Regions from separate parts of the Homo sapiens genome. Here region 2 is linked to region 1. The links are contacts of gene promoters, found by promoter capture Hi-C in blood cells and fetal thymus (Javierre and others, 2016). All regions are on one chromosome and are shown on one strand. The core of a region is centred on a gene start or on the middle of the fragment in contact, and the rest is flanking DNA. Distances in the headings are between cores, read along the strand shown. Region 1 holds the start of SLCO4A1 (solute carrier organic anion transporter family member 4A1). Region 2 holds the start of BHLHE23 (basic helix-loop-helix family member e23).

Region 1 (6,169 bases), core at 1,085-3,584:
CACCTACAACCATCTGCTGGGGAGAGCACCAGGACCCAACACGTTCCAGTGGACGAGTCCAGGAAGCCAGGAATGTATATTGGCTCAGCAGTACCCACCCCAGAAATGGATTAACACTCATGGAGACATCCGGATCGAAGACCTTGTAGGCACAATACTAAGCTCGATGAGTTAACTTTTCATTCTACAATGGGCTGAGAAAAATTTTGCCATTTGGAAGTCAGACCGACCTGGAGCCAAAACTGCAATGGGGCTTGGTCAAGCCAAGGGGCCCATCAGAGCCCCGAGGAGAGCCGGCCTCTCTGGGCTTAGTCTAGCAAGGAGAGCATGTCCATCCACCTGGCCACCCTTCACCTGGCCCAGCCTGCCCTGCCTGCCACGTGCCCAGCCAGCTCTCCACCATGGGAGGGACTTGCCCAGCACCTGCTTTAGGGGCCACACCCAGTGAGCTACAGATTAGGTCACGGCCACTCGGGAGGGAAGCTCCCTCATGAAGAATTTTCCAGGCACCACCTGCTGACCTTGCCCAGCAGGAAGGCAGGACACAGCCTGCTGAGGGCGGTCAGGGCAGCCTGGCTGTGGTCAGCGTCCAGGTCTCACCGAGTGGCCGGCCTCTGCCCTGGCTCCCTCCAGCAGCACAGAGGGAAGTCGGGCTGTGTGGTCTCGGCCCGAGCAACATCCTACTGGTGTCCTGCGATCACTGACAACCCAGAACAGACACTCTGGCCCAGTAACCGCAGGCCCAGCTCTTGGGACGCTGTTCTGGGTCTCCGGCCTGACCCTGCAGTCGCCTTTTGCCTCTTTAAGAACAGAGTCGTAAAACAGGAGCCCAAGCCTGGATCAGACAAACCTGGAGTCAGACCTCTTCAGCACTTACAAGCTGTGTGGCCTAGAGTCAATCACTTAACCTCTTGGTGCCTCAGTTTACTCATCTATAAAGTGGGAGTGATAATGGCCACCTCGTGGGGTTGCTAGGGACTGAATGAGACGATGCTCAAAGCAGGGGTACCATGCCCGGCACATTCCAGCACTCAACACCTAACCCCTGCTGTCACTGTCCTTGTCATTATTACCAGATTCACAAGCGGAGCCGGCTAAGGCCAAGGAGCTGTCCTCTGAGATCCATTTGCTCCCGCTGCTGGGAATGAAAACGTCGCTGACACCGGGCTCTGCAGAGCCAGTTTCTGATTAGATGGAGGTAACCCAAGTTCCAAAAACCACAGCTGAGGAGCAGCAGCTGACAAGCTGGTTGCATGGATGTGGAAAACTACCGCGTTCCAGCCGCCTCCAGACAGAAACAGGACGCATAGCCAGGTCCCACGGCAGCTCCAAAGAGGGCCTTGCACGCCAAGCGGGGCACCCCCCAGCCTGAGGGTTCACCAACCACGCGGACCACGCGGAAACCTAGCTGGGCTTCTCTCTCCCCTCGGGGCGCCAGTGCGGGAGGCGGTTTCTCCCTTGGAAGTGGAAGTCAGATCTGCTTCCAGGTTCCCGGTCTAGGGCCGGTCTAGGGCAGCTAAGCCTGCCTGCTCCTTCCTTTCCATCCTCCCTGGTCAGGGGAGCCCAACAGCAACGCGAGGGCACCCGACCCTCTGCCTGCACCTGGAGGGCGCCCGGGTCCCCCCAAGCCACGGCCAGGACGTCGCGTGGTGGGGCAGGGAAAGGGGCGCCGCCGCTGCTGGAAACTAGCCCTGTGCGCTCCGCCCGCGCTCCCCTCCCGGAGATGTCTCGAGCGCCTCTGGCGCGAACAAAGCCCGGCCGCCCCCGAGAAACTTCCGTGCATGAAGGTTTCCTCCTTGACTCGGCAGCAGCGGCCGCCGCAGGTGGGTGACTCCGCAACTCTGGAGCTCCGCGGAGGCGCGTTCGTCCCCAGCTGGATCTGTGGGGCCTGCGCCTGCGCGCGCTCCGGGCCACCTGCCCAGGTCACCTGCCCCGGCCACTCCGACAGTCCCTGCCAGGGCCGCAGCCCCTGCTCACCCGCTTCCCCCCGGCACCCGCTGCAGCGTGGGGCCCCTTCGCCTCGGTCCTCCTGCGGGCGACTCGGGAGCTCCTACCTGCGCAGCCGGCGGCGGGAAGCGGCGAATTTGGCCTCCGATTCCGCTCGGTCCTGCCCTCCCCCGCGGAGAGGCTCGGGGCGCTCGGCCGGTGCCCAGGCCTCCCGCCCCCGCGCGCATCCCCCCGGCGCTCCAGCCCCTGCCCACGATGGCGGCACCTGCCGCGCTCCTACGCCAGCAGGTCGGGCCCTGTGCACCCGCGCCAGCTCCCCGCTCCCCGCGCACTCACCGTCCCCGTCTCGAGGGCCCGGCCGCCGCGCCGCGCAGCGCTCCACGCTCTGGCCTCCCCGGCAGCCACGCGCCGCTTCATTCATCCGCTGGGGCCGCCCCCGCCGCAGAGGGAGGGGCGGGGTTTCCTGCGCGGGGCCCGCCTCACCCCCCACGGCCAATGGCAGCGGCGACCGCCCCCTCCTCCCCCCCAGGGCACAGAGGCGGGAACGCGCGGCGGGGGACCAGGGCGTCTCTCTCCGGAGCGCTGCCGCCTCCTGGACTCCCCGCTCCAGCTCCAAGGACCGGCATCGCTGCCGCAGCCGGGAGGCCGAGAACGCGCGGTGGCGACGCCGCCCCAGGCCACGCGGCGAGGCGGTTCCGAACGGACTCGGGATTCGCTCCTGGGCGCTGTGGGGCCGAGTGGAGCCAAGCGGCCGTTTTTCAGCTCCGCCCTTCCGAAAGGCTGCCGCAGGGTCGGGGCCACGTGGGGCCCGCGGCAGAGGGGCTGGGGGAACGCCACGGGCGGCCCTGGTGAAGGTGCCCGCCGGTCTCGGCCTGACCCCCAGGCCCTGTTCTGGCACGCGCCCCACCTGCGCGCACAGTGAGACCGGCGCCCTAGCCTGGGAATCCGGGGAATCTCCAGCCCGTTGCCTTTTCCATAACCCCGTCTTCTTTTTCACACTAGCTCTGAGGGTGGAAGGCAGGGAGGTGCCAGCCACGTTCCCTTCCACAGAGGGAACTCCCTGTTGGAATTCCTACCCCGGCTTCCTGCCGTCTGTCCTGGAACACATTGCTCCAGGCCTCCGAGCCTCAGTTTCCTCGTTTGCAAAATGGGGGCGATAACAGAGCGTCCTCAAAGGGGATAAGACGGAAGAAGTTGGCTCATATCAGGGCTCATAATTGTTGCCAAGTATTAACAGGTAACCACAATCACACTCCACAAAGCTTCCCTTTTAGTGTCAGTGAAATTAATTTAAAAGAAGTTTCCGAAAGTCAAGTGTGTGTGTGTGAATCCTGAGATAAGTCAGGTAAGGGGGGAAATGACCACCTCACGGCCCCAGGCTGGTGAGGAAGTCCTAGCCACGGAGGCGGTGCTGCAGGACCTGGCCTGGTGGCATAGCGTGGCGGGCGGGTTCACCGTGGAGAGACGAAGGAGGTGCTGCGGCTTGTGAGAAAAGGCCCACAACCCCATGCAGTTATTTATGAAATGGTTTTCCTTCCTCCAGGGCTTGGGGCTCCTGCCCACTCGTATCAGGTCCCGGGACCCCCCCGGTGGTGTCCTCAGGGCTCCCGCCGTCCCAGGCCGCCCTCCACTTCTGGAAGCAGACACGAGGCCACGAGACCCACTGCTTTTGGGTATCTGCTTTCATTCCTGACACTGCCCTTTAAGAGAAAAAAGTACCCACATTGTTCCCAGATGGAGAGGGTCCCTCCCAGAGGGTGAGGCACTGCCACAGGGGCTCACGGCCCTGCCAGGAGTGGAAGGTGCACACCCAGAAGTATTTCTCCTGTGAAGGAAGGGGGCTGAGCTTCGCTGCAGACCTGGCCTCAGGTGTGGATGAGCTTCGCTGCAGACCTGGCCTCAGGTGCGGAGTCTGCGGGAGCAGCATTTCCAGGCAGACCTGACAGAAGGTGCCTTTGAGAGGTGGTGAGCTCCGTGTTACAGGAGGCTTGTGAGCACAGGTAGCCCATCTTCTGGTGATGATGCTGGAGAAGCAATTCAAATGTCAGAAGCAGGACTGGACTCTGTTTCCAAAACTCACGTCTGGATTCTACCCCCTGAAAACATTATTTACACAATGTTTTTCCTTTAAACAATTCACACATTTGATTAAAAGGGTAAGTTTATTTTTTAAAAAGTCAGTGTCAATTACCACAAAGAGGTCACCATAAAAATAGATAAAAAGAAACAAAATGGCATTAAATTCTAGCCAAATATTGCTGCCTGTGGAGGGCTCCCGGCCTGAGACCCGCCTCAGACCCCACCAGGCATTCTTTGGGATTCCTGCATAGGCACCATTGGAAAGGTAAATCCAGAGCAAACATTTCAGGTACATTCGTGCAAAATGCAGGCCCTCAGTCCTGTCCTCAAAGGCAAATGCTGGTGCCCAGGCTCCTCAAGAGGCCCCTAGGAGCACCAGGAGGCCTTGACCCAGGTGAAGGGTCCTGCCGCAGGCCATCAAGGGGGTCTGCAGGTCTGGCCCAACTCCAGGCCCTGCGTGGTGGGGTCCATCTGCACCAGCTTTCGGGAGCCGACTGTGTCCTTACTCTTGCCCTAGAGGACTCGGGGGTCAGCTACAGAGCACAGCAGTGTCTTGGAACAAGGGCAGCCTGATTATGTGCCCTGGAACATTCTGAACTCAATAAGTTCTATCCCAGCAGGGCTTTTTTTCTTTCTTTTCTTTTTTTTTTTTCTTTTTTGAGAGGAAATAATTAAAAGAAAAAGAAAGCGAGAACCCCCTGGCTCCCCTGTGGCCTTGCAGGGTCGTACTGCTGCCTGTCCGGGCGGCTTCAGGAGGCTCGGAACAGATGCTGCACATTTGTGGGCCACTTACTGTTCTCTGACATCATCTTTAGAGGCACCTCAAAGAGCTGAAATGTGACAGCCTGTATTTCCACCTCCCTCTCTCTTTATGGACATTGTCACTTGGAGGAAAATCGATCTAAAGATCAGAAGAGAAGTGTAGAGAGAGAAGAGAGAGAAACGCTGTCAGGTCAAGGGGCAGGTTAATGGCCAACCCAGAAACAGCGTGGGATCCCGGTGCCTCTGCCTGGAGGGTCCAGCCTGGAACACACATCATTCCTAGCTTTGACCAGGAATGGTATCCAAAAAATGACCTCACTTAGCTATTAGTACTTGATTGGGATAATACTTAAAATCCTGCTAATATTTCTGTGGTTGCTTCCATTCTGTAGTCATAGTTCATTTCTATTTTCTATGAATTTGGCGTATGTCTTAGCCAACTCATTTGAAACTGCCTGTCCTTCCTTGACTTATAAAAAAATGGCCATTTCAGCTTCGTGATAATGGGCAAGTCTCAGAAATGATGAAAACATCATTTAATTGTTTCATTATTTCAAAGTCTCAGGCTGTGGCCATGTGGTGGAGGCTCTAGAGAAAGTTTCTAAAAAATATTTTAAAAGTTACGACTGCACTGTTTTGCATGAGAAAGAGGATTTTGCTAAAGATTGAAGGCGATCGGGCTGCAGGCGAAATGTGGCTTGAAGTCCCCAGCTCCAGAGTGGCACGTTTCAGTCTGTTAAATGCTGTGTTCAGGTGAGGAGTTAGGATCATGGTACAACCCAGATGTGGGCTGGCGGCTGGCACACAGCTTAGCAAAGAAGAGACGCACAAGGCCAGAGTGGCCTTAGGAAAAACTCAGCCTGGAGTTGTCCAAATGTCCGCGATGGAGGAGTTTCATGGGGGAATTAAGATTGTCAGGTTAGGGAAGGGCACAGGTAGCTGGGAGGCTCTTTGGTAGCAAAATTCCATAGAAGATAAAAAGCATGTTCTCTCTTGGAAATCATCAGTCCATCCTGTCGGAGCCCCTTTGGAGCAGGGTGTGGCTGGAGGGCCTGGCTTGCTGGCCACGCCTCAGTCACAGCATTGGCTTTCCTGCGCTTCTGCTTCCTGCTCTTCCCGGTGATCTGCGTCCTGCGGGGCGCACAGCAAGCCCTCCGTGGGACGAAGATCTTCGTCTTCCATCCACGCTGCTTTGCTCACCTGCGACATGACCTGAGGCTCTGGCCCTGCTGAGCTGGGCCCTTGGCCAGTGCTGTACAAACGCCATCCACCATCTGGTGACAGCAGCCTAGCAATTGACCAACAGAGGCCTCCCACTGTCCTCCCTCCTGCCGCCCTCCCTCTGCATCTCCCAGAGCAGGACGACTCCAGGGAGACAGAC
Region 2 (6,169 bases), core at 466-2,965, 360 kb before region 1:
CCGGACCGCACCGGCAGCAGTGCCAGAGTGGCTCTCCGAATGGCCACGGCGCCTTTCTTCCCATAAAGACCAAACTCCCCGCGTGATTCAAACTGTCCCACAGGCCTGGTCCCGCCCCTCTATCTCCTGGCCCCACCCGGGCCCCTCACTGCCCTTCCCTGTGCCAGGCCTCCTCCGGCCACCTGAATGCTCCCCCGACCCCGGCCCGTGGCCACAATGACACCCACTCACCCTTCAGACCCAGGCCCAAACACAGCGGCCTCCTCCACACCAGGTATCCTCAATTCCCGGTCTGTGCATCAGCCCCGAAGGCGGGGTGGGGTCCCAGGACAGCGCCTCAGACAGACGCTTCCATCCTCGGGGCCCCTGCGCTCCTGGCGGGCGTGTGCTGGGGGTGAGGCCGGTGCTGCAGGACGCGCAGCCAGACAGGCCGCCAGCCCGGCAGAGGCTGCCTCAGACCCATTCCCCTCCGCCAGGACAAAGGCCTGAGTTTCCCACGGAGACTTATCCATGCATCTGTCTCCTCACACCCCGCACCTGGCAGGGAACCACCGGACAGGCCGGTCACTGCTGCGTTCCCAGAACCTTCCAGACAGCACATCCGCCCCACACACGTGCAGCTCCCACTCCCCTCCCGGGGCTGCGCACACTGCCCCATCGCTGTGGCTCCTCCTGGGGCGGAGCCTGGAGAACAGGGAGGGTATGCGGCCCTTCCCAGGTCACACAGAAGGGCCCGACGGGCCGCTCCACCTCGTGCCATAGGCCAGGGTGGCCCAGTCTCCCACCCAAGCCAGGACCGGAGAAGCCACTATCCCTCAGCACACTCTAGCCTCAGCACTCGGCCGGGCCTCCAGGCAGGTTCCCACCTGGGAGAAGGGCTGGGGTTCTGGCCTTCATGCGGGGTTGGAAGAGGACTGAAAAGGCGAGTCCGAGGCTGGCCACATTCCCATCCAGTGTGGCTGGACCCCAGGGGTTCGGAGGCTCCGGGAAAGCCCACCAAGCCTCACGCGTTTCGCTGATAGATGCCCAGGAAGCGGCTGGCAGGGAAGAGGCGGTCCTGCAGCTCACAGAGCTCCCCTCCCACCCCCGGGGAGCCCCAGGCCGCGCTGCCCTCCACCTTCCCGCCCTCCCCGGCCTGCAACGCTCGTGGCGTTTTTCAACAGGTTCTAGAAACTCCCTCTCACTCTGCCCCTCAAGCCTGGCCACAGGGCGCCCCGAGCAGGGAGTGTGCGGGCTCCGGGTACACGCTGCGCCGCGGCTGCACCAGAGCGCCCACGACCCTGACCCCGACCCGAAGCGGCCCCTCAGCGGGACAGGGTGTTGGCGCTGGCGCTGCTGCTATTGCGGCGCGCCCCCCCGCTCTGGCCCCTGCGTGTCGCCAGGGACTCTTGCGCTAGGGTCAGACTCAAAGACGGACCGAGGCGGGTGCCCACCTGGGACGCGTGCGTTTGGTGGCGGAATCCCCGGGGCGGCCGGAGGCGGCGGCCGGGGAGTCGAGAAGCAAGTACTAGCGCTCCAGGACCGCGCGCGCCGCCCCGCGCCGCCCCGCGCCGCCCCTCGGTCCAGAGCCCCCACCCCCGGCCTGTGAGCCTGCGGCGCTGGTGGAGCCCGGCTCCAGGAAGAGGAGCTCACCCGGTCCCCCCTGATTGGACAGCAGCGAGGTCCCACCGGGCGCCTCCGCGGCTTAAAACCGAAGCGGGGGCGAGGGGGAGGTAGAGCCCGCCCCCTGCGCGTCGCGGCTGGGAGGGAGAGGAGGTGGGAGAGAAGGAAGAGGCGGAGGAGGCAGCGGGCGCCGAGGCTCTGGGACCCGCAGGCAAGCCAGACCGACGCGCAGAGCCGGGAGCCTCATCGCAGCGGCAGCGGCAGCGGCGGGCTCGGGCCGGCCTCGGGGGCTGCTCACCCACATGAGCATCCGCCCACCCGGCGAGCCCCCGAGCCCAGGCGGCGCGGCCATGGCCGAGCTCAAGTCGCTGTCGGGGGACGCGTACCTGGCACTAAGCCACGGCTACGCGGCGGCGGCTGCGGGTCTCGCCTACGGGGCGGCGCGAGAACCCGAAGCGGCCCGCGGCTACGGCACTCCGGGCCCGGGCGGCGACCTCCCCGCGGCGCCTGCACCTCGCGCCCCAGCTCAGGCGGCGGAGAGCAGCGGCGAACAGAGCGGGGACGAGGACGACGCCTTCGAGCAGCGGCGGCGGCGGCGCGGGCCAGGGAGCGCGGCGGACGGGCGGCGGCGGCCGCGAGAGCAGCGGTCTCTGCGGCTCAGCATCAACGCGCGCGAGCGGCGGCGCATGCACGACCTAAACGACGCGCTGGACGGGCTGCGAGCCGTCATCCCCTACGCGCACAGCCCGTCGGTGCGCAAGCTCTCCAAGATCGCCACGCTGCTGCTCGCCAAGAACTATATCCTCATGCAGGCGCAGGCCCTGGACGAGATGCGGCGCCTGGTGGCCTTCCTCAACCAGGGCCAGGGCCTGGCCGCGCCCGTAAACGCCGCGCCCTTGACGCCCTTCGGCCAGGCCACTGTGTGCCCCTTCTCCGCAGGCGCCGCCCTGGGGCCCTGCCCTGACAAGTGCGCCGCCTTCTCCGGGACGCCCTCCGCGCTTTGCAAACACTGTCACGAGAAGCCGTGACCGCGCGGGCCCCCGGCCCTCCCGCACGCGTCCTCCGATCGCCCCTGTGACTGTCTCTCTGCCCGGACAGGAAAGGCCTGGAGGGACCCTGCAGACCAGGAGGAGGGGGCCCGACTTCGCTTCCAGCCTGTGCGCGGTGGACAGTTTAGCGCAGCGGGAAGCGCCAAGGCCGTCGGGGCGCGGGATTGAGCTCGAGAGCCGGACGCTGGACTCTGCGCCCGGGAACTCGCGGCACCCACTGGGTATTGTCGGGACCCAGCAAGTCTAGGAACGGGGGTGGGTAGAGCATCCTTCGGGCACTGCCGTTCGTCCCCAAAAGAAGACCACCGCGGGGTCCCAGGGCCACGGCGAGGACGGGCACTGGTCAGATTCCGGACAGGCGGTCCTGGCCCCGGGCGCACGAAAGGTGGAGACGAAGAAAAGCCGGACTTACTGGCTCCTGATCCTCTTGCAGTGGGCCTCGCGCTCCCGCTCCAGCCGGCCCTTCGTGCTAAACTGCAGGGCAGTGCTCTGTTCCTGAGGACGCGCGTGGCCGGCACCTCCCACCTCGGTGACTCCGAGACTCCGCAGCCCTGCGGAGAGCCCACGATGGCCGTCTGCAGAGGAGCTGGACCGCGGGCGCAGGAAGACCCCGGGGAAGGCCTTTTCCAAGTAGGAGTTTGTTCTATTTATTTGGGAATTGGACGCCGTCGCCGGCTGCCTCGAAGTCTGAGGAATTTGTCCCCTAAATGTCCCCTGGCCTCCCCCCCCCGCCGCCATCCGCTGCCTGGGACGTCCGCGGGGTGGAGTTGGATGGAGACCGCTTTGCGGGCCCTCTGCCTCGGGGGGCTGCGTGGAGGAGGGTCCTCACAGCCCGCGCCCTACTTAACCCTGACGGTCAGGGGAGGGCCCCGTCTAGCCCTGGTGTCCAGCAAACCCCCTCCCCACCGATCCCCTCTCCCTTCCGAGGGAGGAGGCCGGGCTACGGGTGAGTAAGCTGCTGCGGGCCCCGTGCCCCGCCGGGTGTGAACGGAGATGCGCTGCGCAGTGCCCGTCCTGCGCAGCTCCCAGCTCTGCCACCATCCGGGATCCAGGGAGCCGGGCAGGGTGCCCCCGGGGACCCATCTGTCCGCGCCGGTTTGCGCCCCGCGGCCCCGCCGCAGTATCCGGCTTTATTAACCCAATTTCCTCGGCTGTCGGTAATGCCAAGGGGAGAGGGCCGCCGCCCTGCAACGCGCCTGTCTACAGCGTTTAACTCTGATTAATACATTCCACAGGGCCTTCTGTACTTGCAAAATCAAGTGTATGGTTAAGTCTTATTCATAAAGACATATGCCTAATACTGGTTTCTGCTAATTTCCACTTTTATTTCTTCATTGTCTTTTTTTTTTCCCCTAACAGACTAGTTTATCAGTTTTGCACATTCGAAAAGCTGAGTGCCAGACACCGTTTTTCCCCTTTTAGATAAAGTGGGAAAGCTGGAAACTCAAATGCCCTTCACTTCTAGGGTCATTTCAACGTGATCTTAAATAAATTACCTGCTTATCAGAATTTGAAACAGGGGTGTTTATTCTGGTTAAAATCAGAGACATTGGTACATCATTTATATTCAGAATAAAGCATTTTATTGCCATTTATTTTATAAAAATAATATGGTTAAATTTTAATATCAAGTGAAATAGTGTTCATTTGTAGCTGAATTCACAATAATTTCAATTTTCAGATACTTGTGTCCACTCGAAACCAGAGTCTGAAGAGTCTCTGAGATGCTAAAACTCATCTAAAAGCAACCACTTATTATAGCACATGTGTGAAATCATAAGGAAAAGGGCAGAGGAAAAAAATCTCTCTTTCTCTCTTTGGGTGGAGAATAAGTTTTTGAAAAAACCACTTCACTAATCAAAAATTCTTCCGATTACTTAATTTAAATAAAAATTCAAGTTACATTTAAACTTTTTTGTACATGACAAAGCTGTGTGTCTACTGTTCTACAAACGTCTGCATGCTTCTCACTTGGCCTGAGTGGAGTGGAGTGTTTCGGAGAATTAGCTCGCCTTCTCTGCAGTGGCTGCTCGCGAAGCCACCTGGGCAATCACAGTGTCATCTGGCCTTTCTCAGATTTGCCCAAGGATCTTCTCATTCCAAGACAGCCCTCCACGGCCTGTGTGCCCACATCTGGCAAACAGCAAAGCAGAACCCACGTGGGTGCCTGTGCAAGCCCGTGGCTCCCGAGAAACGTGGGGGGCTGCTCGTCTTTTCTCTGACGGCTGTGCTCCTGCAGGTGTGTTGAGAATGGCTGGGGATCACCGGGAAAGAACTTCACCGTCACCACCCACCAGGAGCCACCCTTCCCCCAACACTCAGGGAGGAACCAAACACGAAAGAGCTTTGCTTCCAGCTGAGCTTTTCAAGACGCTCACTGTGTTGTTTTGTTTTGTTTTGTTTTTTAAGACAGAGTCTCGCTCCATCACGGAGGCTGGAGTGCAGTGGCACCATCTTGGCTTGGCTCACTGCAGCCTCTGCCTTCCGGATTTAAGCGATTCTTCTGCCTCAGCCTCCCTAGTAGGTGGGACTACAGATGTGCGCCACCACGCCTGGCTAATTTTTGTATTTTTTTGTAGAGATGGGGCTTCATCATGTTGGCCAGGCTGGTCTTGAACTCCTAACCTCAAGTGATCTGCCTGCCTCGGCCTCCCAAGTGCTGGGATTATAGGCTGAGCCACCACGTCTGGCTAAGATGCTCACCTTTAGATTCCTTCTAGGTAGAGATGTGCAGGCTGTGGGAGGTGGGAGGCAGCGTCCCCAGAACCGAGGTGTTCACACCACCCCGTGACCAGTGTTGCTGTAGGGAGAGAACGTGGTCATGTGTAGAATTTTACATTTTCAAGTGGCCATATTAAAAAAGGAAATAGAAGCAGATGAAATTATTTTTATTGATAACTTAATACTTATCCCAATACATCCAAAATATCATTTCAGTGTGTCATCCATATTTAAAGTTATTCGATATTTTACTTTCCTGGCACTAAGTCTTCAAGTTCCAGCATGTGTTTAAAGCCCAGCTCAGTTCATACCAGCCATGTTCCAATGCGTTTCAGTGCTCAGTGGCCACGCGTGGTTTGGCAGCCTCGGGTTTTGCAGCTCTCGGCCGTGAAAACACCAAGCACGCAAAGTACTCCTTGCTTCTTTCTCTTTGTTTAATAATAACCAGGAAATGCCTATGGACTTAAGGAGTCCATTCTAGAGCTGGGCAAATAGGAAATGTCCCATCCTTGTTTCTTTTCCAATCCTGATTCATCGAGCCTTTCTCCGGAGTGCGGGCTGGGGCTGGGGCTGTGGCTGGGGCCTGGGCCGGCAGCAGGAAAGGCAGAGGCTGTGCCCACTGAGTCACTGGGTCCACATGCCCCTCCAGCCTCACACGCGCCAACCACACCCAAGCCTAGGAAACGGGAGAAAGCGGATTACAAGGCCACAGAGTAAAGGTGTGGGCCCTGCTGGCTGCTGCTTGAGCGACTCACAGATCAAGACCTGTTCTTTTTTTTTTTTTTTTTGAGACGGAG

The links. The method cuts DNA at HindIII sites, captures the fragments that hold promoters and counts their contacts. A CHiCAGO score of 5 or more calls a contact.
Region 2: a contact is called between the fragment with the promoter of BHLHE23 here and the fragment with the promoter of SLCO4A1 in region 1, in 2 of 17 cell types (neutrophils and non-activated CD4 T cells). The highest score is 6.1, in neutrophils.

What each region holds. Positions count from the first base shown.
Region 1 is chr20:62,638,668-62,644,836 of GRCh38, reverse strand. SLCO4A1 (solute carrier organic anion transporter family member 4A1) reads right to left here and starts at 2,334. Exons shown (of 12, transcript NM_016354.4): 1 at 2,284-2,334. LOC124904949 (a long non-coding RNA gene) reads left to right here and starts at 2,500. Exons shown (of 2, transcript XR_007067711.1): 1 at 2,500-3,184; 2 at 3,491-6,169. RefSeq lists a silencer at 1,897-2,846. The HindIII fragment of the contact is 5,977 bases long and covers 1-3,211 here.
Region 2 is chr20:63,002,510-63,008,678 of GRCh38, reverse strand. It overlaps BHLHE23 (basic helix-loop-helix family member e23), which reads left to right and starts at 1,715. Exons shown (of 1, transcript NM_080606.4): 1 at 1,715-2,752. The coding sequence starts at 1,905. The coding sequence ends at 2,630. RefSeq lists enhancers at 583-1,290, 1,291-1,996, 4,321-4,834. The HindIII fragment of the contact is 10,733 bases long and covers 1-6,169 here.